2 separate regions of the Homo sapiens genome follow, and region 2 is linked to region 1. Evidence: promoter capture Hi-C in human tissues and cell types (Jung and others, 2019). All regions are on one chromosome and are shown on one strand. The core of a region is centred on a gene start or on the middle of the fragment in contact, and the rest is flanking DNA. Distances in the headings are between cores, read along the strand shown.

Region 1 (5,254 bases), core at 768-3,267:
TATTTCCCTGTTGCCACAAAGACCTGGCCAGGCCCCCTCTCTCGGGGTACTCTTATGGTCCCCAACCCGTGGCTGGGAACCAGTCTGAGAACACTTCTCCTTCTATGTGGTCCAGCCCAGATGCTCTGCTGGGCAATCCCGATTGGGACTAGACCAAGAAATGCAAGATAGTTGACTGTGGTGGGCATGGAATCCCAGCTCACGCAAATCCTCTGCTCTGTGAACAGGGGTCTGGGGGAAGCTGAGGAGGAAAGACTTAGCGGCGCAGAGGGAAGGAGGGCAGAGCCAGCCTCTACCTGTGTCACCTGGGACAGCTTTCTTCACCCTCTGGAATTCAGTTGCCCTGTGGGTGCAGTAGTGGGAGCAGGGGTGGTAAGCCCACTCTATATGCCCTTCTAAAATAATGCCCTTTGCCATCTGAGGGCTAGGAGTCTGTAACTGGAGATGTCTTCTGATCTGAGAAGCTGAGGGTGGAAGAAGAGACCCAGCTGGGGGAACTGGAGGAGTCTTGGCAGACCCTGGTAGGAAAGGAGAGCCAGAGAATGGAAATGGAACAAAACGGATACTTGAAAGTATCTTGTTGAGGCTGGGTGCGGTGGCTCAAGCCTGTAATCCCAGCACTTTGGGAGGCTGAGGTGGGTGGATCATGAAGTCAGGGGTTTGAGACCAGCCTGGCCAACATAGTGAAACCCGGTCTCTACAAAAAATACAAAAATAGCCAGGTGTGGTGGTGTGCGCCTGTAATCCCAGCTACTTGGGAGTCTGAGGCAGGAGAGTCACTTGAACCTGGGAGGCGGAGGTTGCAGTGAGCCTAGACTGCGCCATTGCACTCCAGCCTGGGAGACAGAGCAAGACTCCATCTCAAAAAAAAAAAAAAAAAAAAAAAGAAAGTATCTTGTTGAGTGACTGAATGAAAGAGCCACAGGGGGAACCTAGGAAGAAAGCAGGGCAGGGGGTTCATCTACACTGGAATAGGGGTCTCGGGTGGGGGTCAGATGACTTGTGTCTCTTCCATCATGTGTCTCATGAGACCTAGTTCTGCCCCAGCTCTGCCATTGCTGCGTAAGCTTGGGAAGCTTATTTTGCTCCTCTGGGCCTCAGTGTCCCCATCTATAAAATGGGGCAAATAATCCTCTCCTTGCACCCCAGGGGCTTTGAGACGTGAAAAGGAATGTATCTGTCAATATCCAGAGATATCCAATCTGTGCTGGATGACCTTGACCAAATCACATTCCCTCTCTGTGCCAATTCACCCCTGGGCCTTGGTTTGTCCTTCTGAAAAACGGCTGATCATCTTGGAGGATCTTTCCATCTCCTCCATGTCACCTCTTCTCAGCAGTGCTCTCTGATTCTCTCAGGCTTCCGTTAGGGGTCCTTCTAAATGCACTCTCAGCCTCCTGTCTGCCGACCGGGCACCTGCTTGCCCAATGAATATCTTGCTCACTAGCCTGGTGCTTCTGAGGTCAGGACCACGTCTTGCTACTGTCCCCTGCACCCAGTACAGTGTTAGAATGTAGTAAATGCTCAGTATGCTTGTTCAATGAATGAAGGTTGACTGAATCAACCACAGAGATGATCAGAGTCTCCTTTACAGATGGGGAAACTGAGGCACTGAGAAATGATCTCCCTGGGTGCCATGGCAAGGGGAGGCCGCCACCCGACATGGGCATCGGGAAAGTGGGGCCGAGGCCACTCTTTGACAAAAGTGACTCAGCAGCTGGCGGCTGGCGTGGGCTGTGGAATTTCTAAGCATCCCCTCACATCCTGAGCGAACGGGCGATGGGAGGGAGTAAGCAGAGTGAAAAGAAGAAAAACAAGAAACTTGGGGGAAAAGAAAGAGAGAGGGGGAAAAAAACTGAAATTGAAAACAGACGCACGCGTCCACCCTCCCTGCCCCGCCGCCCCCCCTTCTCCCAGCTGGGCCAATCAGAAGCCACCCTGCAGCCTTTCCCCCAAAGTGGCGGGGGAAGTGGGGGGGCATGGAAGCCCATAGTGGTGTGAGCTCCTGAGGCTGCCAGCAGCCAGCAGTGACTGCCCGCCCTATCTGGGACCCAGGATCGCTCTGTGAGCAACTTGGAGCCAGAGAGGAGATCAACAAGGAGGAGGAGAGAGCCGGCCCCTCAGCCCTGCTGCCCAGCAGCAGCCTGTGCTCGCCCTGCCCAACGCAGACAGCCAGACCCAGGGCGGCCCCTCTGGCGGCTCTGCTCCTCCCGAAGGATGCTTGGGGAGTGAGGCGAAGCTGGGCCGCTCCTCTCCCCTACAGCAGCCCCCTTCCTCCATCCCTCTGTTCTCCTGAGCCTTCAGGAGCCTGCACCAGTCCTGCCTGTCCTTCTACTCAGCTGTTACCCACTCTGGGACCAGCAGTCTTTCTGATAACTGGGAGAGGGCAGTAAGGAGGACTTCCTGGAGGGGGTGACTGTCCAGAGCCTGGAACTGTGCCCACACCAGAAGCCATCAGCAGCAAGGTAAGTGCTGGAAAAAGTGGGAACCCCAGCCCCATGCCCTGTCCCTTTGCCCTAACCTGCATCTCTTCGAGTAGGTAAAAAAAAAAAAAAAAAAAAAAAGGGAAGATATTTTTAACAAAACAAGATGAGAGGAGGCTGGGAGACTGTGGGTGATGTCAGGGATGGAGGAGCCAGTTTTCTCCTTTCCCCTGCTCTGGGGTGAGTGGCCTCCACCTCATCATCCCTGCTGCTCCTGCCTTCATCAAACAATCCTCAGGGGTTTCTGGGTGCTGACTGGGGGCCTCCAAAGCACAGCACAGTCAATGGGGAGTGGGGAGAGCTGGGAAGAGCGGGAGAGGGGAATTGGGAGAAGGTAGGCAGGGTACACAGAAAGCAGGGGACTGGGGACCTCAGGACCATAGCCGCTGTTCCTTGGCCCAAGCCTTGTTTCTAAGAATCAGTCTGGCTTTAGGCCAGTCAGCCGCCAGGCAACCTCTGGGGATTTAAATGGATTTGCAAATTTTCTAGATTCTTAAGATATCCTTCTAAACCCCCAGCAGCTAGAAAAGTTTGAGGGCTAGGAAAGTTCGAGGGTGATGGGCGGCCATGGCAACCCCCTAGCGGTCATGCTGCTGGGTCTGGGGGCTGGGACCTGGCTGTCAGATCTGGGGGCTCCTCTGTGAAGAAGGGGTCAGCCACTGGGCCATTTCCTTTGGTCCCAGGCAGCTGCTCAGGCCTCCTCGTTGTCTCCCTCCTTCTGGACTCTACCCCTTCTCCATGCCATTCTAAAGCATAAATCCAATCACACCACCTCCCTGCCCAGGATCCGCCTATGGCTCCCCAGTGCCTGGAGAAAGTCCCAGCTCCTAACAGAGGCTGCCACTGCTTGACACTTACTGCACGCCGCAACTGTGCTGAGTGCTTTATGAGACTGATCTCATGTAATGCTCACCAGCAACCCCAGAGGCAGTGACTGTTTTTACCTCCGTTTTATACATGAGGAACTTGAGGCTCACGCAGCCACATAACTGTAGCCACACAGCTAGTAAGTGGCACAGCCTGGAGAGGTTGGAATCTCCCCGTGCCCCATTACTCCAAACTTGGGCCTTTTGTTCCCGCCAGTCAGATCCCAGAATTCCCAGAAGGAATGCGCACCATCCTGCTTGTGGGCATTTGCCCTCCCTCTTCCCCCTTTCTGGAATGCCCTTCCTCATCACTTTTCTTTCAGGGATATTCCATACACCACCTCTTCCAGGCAGCCTTCCTAGGTTCTTCCTGTCTTCCAAGTGCTAGCCATGCACTTTGTGCTGAAGCCATGTTACTTGGCCCTCCCCTGTTGGTGATCTGTTTATGTTCTGTTTGTTCATCAGAGATTGTTCAGGCCCCAGCAGTCAGAACTGAGGCCGCACTTTCTGCTGGGGAAAGGTTTAAGGTTTCCCCATCCTGTGCTCTTCCCCCAGTGCCCAGCCCTGGATAGGCAGTGCGGCTGAAAAAATGTCCTGGTGAAAGGGAGGAGGAGCTCACTGAAGACCTTCTGCTCCCAAGTGTGAGACTAGAACCCAGGCCTCCAGCCTTCTCACAGGTGCCCTTCCAGGACATCGTGTGGCTACTCCAGGCAGCATTCCTCCATTGCAAGCAGGGAGGAGTATCTCTGCTTCCCTCTGTGACCTCCCAATTGCACAGAGGCCTCTAGTGACAAGTTCTGAAGTCATGCAGTCCTCCCCTGTCTCCAAGCAGGAGACCCTGAATCCACAGCCTTCAGGGACATACAGTCCCTGAACACCTACCTCATGCAGGCATAGAGCCTGGTACTTCACACACCTTGGAGTCCTCATGGCAAGTTTTTGAAATCAGTGTTATTACCTACTTTTTGTAGATGAGGAAGCTGAGATCTGGAGAGGCTAAGTGACTTTCCCAGGGCCATACGGTGAGTTAAGGTGGTGTTTAGGCTGAAGTCTGCCTGACTCTAAAGGCTTACCTCGTGCTCCCCGGGAAGCTCCCAGTCAGAGGGAAGAATCTCCATCCTCCTGCAGAGCCTGCTCCTGGCTTCAGCACCTTCCCCAGCAGAAAGTGCAGCCTCAGGTCTGACTGCTCCAAGGTCTGCCCGGGCCCTGGCTTGGTCTTGAGAGAGGAAAGAGACCATCTGGTCAGCACCCTCCTCCCAGACAGCAGTTATCAGCAGCCCCCCTCCTCTGCGGGAAGAAGAGCTGGGACTTATAATTGCCCACACATGTGGGGCAGGCAGTGGAAAGCACCGTGGATCCAGAGTCAGGAGACCCAGTGCTTGCCCTGGCTTGATTTAAATCCACCGTGTGGCCAACCTCAGACCCCCCACATCCCATCTCTGGGCTCCTTCCGCAGCTGGGAGGCAGTGAGCGCTGTGGGTAACCAGCACCAGGCTTGGGCATCAGATGACTATGCATTGACCCCGAGTCAGTTTCTGGCTGACTGTGTGACCCCGGGGCAGCACCTTGCCTCTCTGGGCCTCAATCTCCTTCTCTGTGAGCAGCAGGACCGTGTGTGGGCTCCATGAGACAACAGCATTGGCAAGGTGCTTACCACAGTTCCTGCACTTCACAGCTGGACCTCTGGCCACTGGCTGAGAGAACCACTGCTCTCCTGGCCTCCTGCATTGGAACACTTGGCTGTGAAATTAATCTGCAACCTGCAAAAGGCTCTGCCCACAGAAGGGACCTGGACACCATGTATGTTCCAAAGATCCGTGTCCATCCTCCAGGCACAGGCCACAGTCTGACTCTGAGACCAGCTGCCTTCTAGGCTAAAGGAGGGTGCTCTGGGCATTGGCTCAG
Region 2 (5,254 bases), core at 792-3,291, 50 kb after region 1:
CTTTGAGCCTGTCTTTCTTCATCTGTAACATGGAGTAATTACAGCTTTCCCCTAAGGTGGCTGGGAGAATCAATGAGATGATCTGTGCAAATAGCTCAGTCCAGAGACTGGCATGAAGAGTGTGCCCAATGGATCAACCAGAACAGTCCTTCTTCATGCCCCTGTGTTAATGCAATTATTAATAGCACCCCTTCCAGTCTCAAAGGTTCCAAATTGGATGACAAATCATGTTAATGTCCATAGATGTCAGATATTATCAGCTGCACTGTATAACACCACTTAGCTACTTGCCTTACCTCCCACCAGGCGGTGAGGTCCCTGCATGCAGGAAAGTGCTCTGAGCCTTGGCCTTCCTGGGCCCAGAACAAGGCCTGACACATGAAGCATTTGCTGAATAAATTGCTTTTGGAGGGTGGAGAGCTTCTCCTTGCTCTTCATTTATTCATTCATTCATTGGATTGTTTATACATTTCTTCATGCATCTGGCATTGACTGAGCACTCATCTGCCAGGCAGGGCCAGGTGTAGAGGGTATAAAGAAGACCGGAAGGGAGACTGGCCCTACCAGGAAACTCCTGCTGCAGAACAAAGGGGTCAGAATGACATCACACCAATAACCACTCTCATAACTGTGCTTCTGTTGACAGCGAGAAGTGCCAGGAAACTCAGGGAGCCACGAGAGACTATAAGACAGGGACTCAGTCAGGCAAAGGGAGGCTTATGGGCCAGGTGGAAGCAGAAGTATGTGGAACAGGAAGAAGGAGTGTGGGGGTGTATGCAGGAGCTGCAAGTGTTCAGTACAGCAGGGAGGGTGGATGGAGAGAGAAGAGGCAGAGATCAGATTGCAAAGGCCCCTGTAAGCCCTGCTACAGGGTATGGCCTTGATCTGCTCTATGGAGCTGCAATAGTAATGGGAGCAAATACCCCATAGTACTCCAATTCAGACACTAGAGCTCAATCCTCAGGCCTAGAGATAGGTGTGGTCGAACCTTTGTGGTCCAGGGTCAAAGAGGAACCAGTTGCCAAATTGCCATTATTCTGTCTGGGTCCCTGGCTCCTAGCTTGGGCCCACTCCACTCTCTGGTGGGGAACCTCCTGGGTCCCAGGGCATGGGCTGCAGTTGGGGTTAACTGGGCAGGAGGGTGGGGGCTAAGCTGTCCTTGACCTGGGGTCTGGAGGTTCCAGGGTCCAGGAGTCAGGCAGGGAGATGAAAACTAGGCTCTCAGTATGTGAAGTGTGACATGGCCCACACATTTCTTCAGAGTTTCCTAATCCTTGGGCTGTCATGCAAACTCCTCTCAAAGTTCCTCTGCCACAGGAAGGGGTAATGTCAATCTGGGATTCTTGTTTGTCACCTTCCCGGCAGCATCACCAAGGCTTCCTCAGTCAGGGCTTACCCCACTGAGTCCCATGGCACTTCCCCACTCTGTGTCCACTAGCGGTCAGCACACCCACTGCTGGGGGAGGTCAGGATCGCCCTGTGCAGTGTGCTGGTCATTAGCGTAGGCTCTGCAGCCAGGCTGCCTGCTTCCAGTCTCAGCTCTGTCATTCCCTGGCTCTGGGACTTTGGGCAAGTGAACTAACCTCTCTGAGCCTTGGTTTCCTCATCGGCAAAATGGCGTAATTAATAGAATCAGCCTCATGTGTTAAAAGCACTAAATTAGATAAATATGGAAAGAGCCTGCTGTGGTGCCTGGCACATAAACAGCACTCAGAAAATATTAGGGAGTCCAGTGTGGTGGCTCACACATGTAATCTCAGCCCTTTGGGAAGCCAAGGCAGGAGGATCGCTTGATGCCAGGAGGAGTTTGAGACCAGCTGGAGCAACACAGTGAGACCCTGTCTCAACAAAAAGAAATAGAAAATTAGTCAAGTGGGCGGTGTGTGCCTGTAGTCCTAACTACTCAGGAGGCTGAGGCAGGAGGATTGCTTGAGCCCAGGAGTTTGAGGCTTCAGTGAGCTGTAACTCTGACACTGTACTCTAGCCTGGCAACAGAATGAGACTTGCCTATAAAAAAAGGGAAAAAGAAAAAAAAGAGGCCAGGTGTAGTGGCTCACGCCTGTAACCCCAGCATTTTGGGAAGCCAAAACGGGCAGATCACTTGAGGTCAGGAGTTCGAGATCAGCCTCGCCAACATGGTAACCCCGCCTCTATTAAAAAAAAAAAAATATATATATATATATATATATTTTTTTTTTTTTTTTTGAGACAGAGTCTCTCTCTGTCACCCAGGCTGGAGTGCAGTGGCACAATGTTGGCTCACTGCAACCTCCGCCTCCTGGGTTCAAGTGATTCTCCTGCCTCAGCCTCCTGAGCAGCTGGGACTACAGCCACGTGCCACCACGCCTGGCTGATGTTTTGTATTTTTAGGAGAGACAGGGTTTCACTGTGTTAGCCAGGCTGGTCTCCATCTCCTGATCTCGTGATCCACCTGCCTGGGCCTCCCAAAGTGCTGGGATTATAGGTGTGAGCCACTGCACCCAGCCTCTGTCAAAAATATTAAAAAATTAGCTGGGCGTGGTGGTGGGTGCCTATAGTCCCAGCTACTCAGGAGGCTGAGGCAAGAGAATCACTTGAACCCAGGAGGTGGAGGTTGCAGTGAGCTGAGATCACGCCACTGCACTCCAGCCTGGGTGACAGAATGAAACTCCATCTCAAAAAAAAAAAGAACAAATGAACAAAAGAGTAAGGATTAGGCCTCTAAATGCCATTTTTTCCAGGAGGACAGAGTACCTTCCTACTCACGGGGCTTTGGCATACAGCATTCATTCATTAATTCATTCACTCTTCATACATCTAAAATCAGTGGATCAGAATGGTCAGGTATACCTGTACCATAGGAGGCAGAAATGCCCTCACCAGCTGTGTGATCTTGGGAAAGTGACTTAACTTCTCTGAGCCTTGGTTTGCTCTTCAGTAAAACAAGGATAATAACCACACCTACCTCTAGAGTTGAGGATTCAATGAGAAAATTCCAAAGAGCACTGGGCGTGCTGCCTTTCACATAGTGAGCACCTGATAAACCTTTGAAGCCTGCCATGCAAGGAAAATGCTGGGATGCGGTTGAGCCCAAAAGGCCTGGGATGCATAATAAGGATACCTGCCCATCTGGCAGGAACAGGGAGGCTTCCAGGAGGCAGCGAGTCTGAAGGAGCTATAGGAATTAGCTGGATGGATAGAAATGACAGGACAAGCAGCATCCTTTGATCGTGGGGACAGAGACAGGTCCTGCCAAGGTGGCCTAGGCCATCCCTCAGGACTACTGTAGCCTCCACCCCTCTTGCTGGTTATACCCCTCCTCCACCTAAACATGTTCCACCAGAGAGGGGTCTCTGCCAGCCTGGGTCAGGGACTTGGTGAGAATTGCATGAAAGCTGGGCAAGATCACACACAAACTTTGCATCCGTGTTAGGGGTGCCCAGGTTTCCTCAAGGCCATCCAGGGACTCTCAAAGGCAGTGGCCTCAGCCAGAGGGAGCATGAGAATCCGCTAGAGAGCTTGTTACCTGTGCAGGTACCCCCCTCCCACCCCTAAGTCAGCAGGCCTGGGATGGTCCTGGAGTCTTCATTTTAACAGTTACCCCTGTGATTCTGAGGCTGGGGTCCCTGAACTGCACTTGGAGGTGCACCCCTCTAGAGGCCTCCAGGCCATTAAGGACCCATGGCCTATAGGATCAAGCCCTGGCACCCTGCCAGGTTGTCAGGTACTCTTAGTACTTGGACCTCACCCCCTTTCTACTCCCATCTCCACTCCATTCCTTCACACTCTGGTTGGCCCCAGAGAGTCCTGATTTTTCACCCTCTCTGCCCCTATGCTATTCCCTCTCCTGGGATTTCCTTTCTGCCTGAAGGGTTGCTGCTCCTCCTTCAAGGCCCAGCTCCAATGCCACTGCTCTGGAAGGCCTCACAGACTCTCCATCTTCTGTTCCCCAGCGCCATCTGATTGTGCTTATGTTACAACACTTAGGGGCTTGCTTCCAAATGTGTTGGACTTTAAGAAGTTAATGTCACATTGATGACCTTGCATGTTGTTGATCTGATGAGAGTAAGGGAGGCCAGATGTGCTTGGAGACCATGTCCCAGGAAAGACTACTAAGAAACCAGAGTGCTCACCCTGGAGAAGTAGTACCTCCGGGGACCACAAGTGCTGTCTGCATCACTGGAGGCCTGTCGAGGGACAGGGAACAGAGCTGCCTGAGGGTCCAGAGCAACAGGTGGGTGTCACAGAGAGGCAGATCTGGGCCAGATAGGGAAGCATGGGCTAACTGCTTCCCACAACAGATGGATGCAGGTGACCTGTCAGAAATGCGCCAAGGGGCACAGGGAATGGTATTGGCCAGACAATCCAAGTAGTGGGGAGTGGCGCCCAGCTACCTAGGCCTTCGACTCAGAAAATTCGGATTCTGGCTCTGAGTCTTCCCCAAAGTAGCTGTGTGAGCTGAGATAAGTCACAAACCCTCCTTGACCTTCCTTTTTCTTATCTATGCAATAGAGCTATGCACTTCACTGATTGCCTGTGACCCAGGCCTGTATGAGAAAATGGAAATGAAAGTGCCTCGTAAACAATAAATGGCTCAGCCTTCCTAAACAAAACATGAAACCCAGAAGTCAGAAATGAAAAGACAACAGATTTGACTACACACAGTAAAAACTTCTGTGTGAATACACAAACCAAAAGAACATTAGCAGAGAAGTGGCAAACTGATGGAAAATATTTTCAGCATTTCTGATAATTGGGTTAGCAGACATAATACAGATAACGAATAGTTCAATAAGCTGGGTGCAGTGGCTCATGCCTATAATCCCAGCACTTTGGGAGACCAAGGCATGCAGATCACTTGAGGTCTGGAGTTCGAGACCAGCCTGGTCAACATGGTGAAACCCCACTTCTAGTAAAAATACAAAAATTAATTGGCCGTGGTGGTGGGCGCCTGTAATCCCAGCTACTCGGGAGGCTGAGGCAGGAGAATCGCTTGAACCTGGGAGTCAGAGGTTGCAGTGAGCCAAGACTGCGCCACTGCACTCCAGCCTGCGTGATAGAGCGAGACTCGGTCTCAAAAATAAAGAAATAAATAGTCCAATGAATCAATAAAGACAAAAAAACGGACAAAGGATATCTGTAGAAGAAATACCAATAGCCAATACACACATGGAAAAAATGTTTATTTCATCACTCATACAGAAAATGCACATGAAACCTCAACGAATTAACATTTTTTCCTACCAGACTGCGAATAATTTTAAAGATCAGTGAT

What was found. The method cuts DNA at HindIII sites, captures the fragments that hold promoters and counts their contacts. A contact is called where the count stands out against the background at its distance.
Region 2: a contact is called between a fragment that was not itself captured here and the fragment with the promoter of PDGFRB in region 1, in 1 of the 25 tissues and cell types used here (pancreas).

Annotation. Positions count from the first base shown.
Region 1 is chr5:150,152,608-150,157,861 of GRCh38, reverse strand. PDGFRB (platelet derived growth factor receptor beta) reads left to right here and starts at 2,017. Exons shown (of 23, transcript NM_002609.4): 1 at 2,017-2,465. RefSeq lists enhancers at 1-99, 4,257-4,776, 4,777-5,254. The HindIII fragment of the contact is 14,571 bases long and covers 1-5,254 here.
Region 2 is chr5:150,102,299-150,107,552 of GRCh38, reverse strand. It overlaps a transcript of CSF1R not described here. Among named protein-coding and RNA genes, the nearest start is that of CSF1R, 18 kb to the right of the region's middle. The HindIII fragment of the contact is 7,045 bases long and covers 1-5,254 here.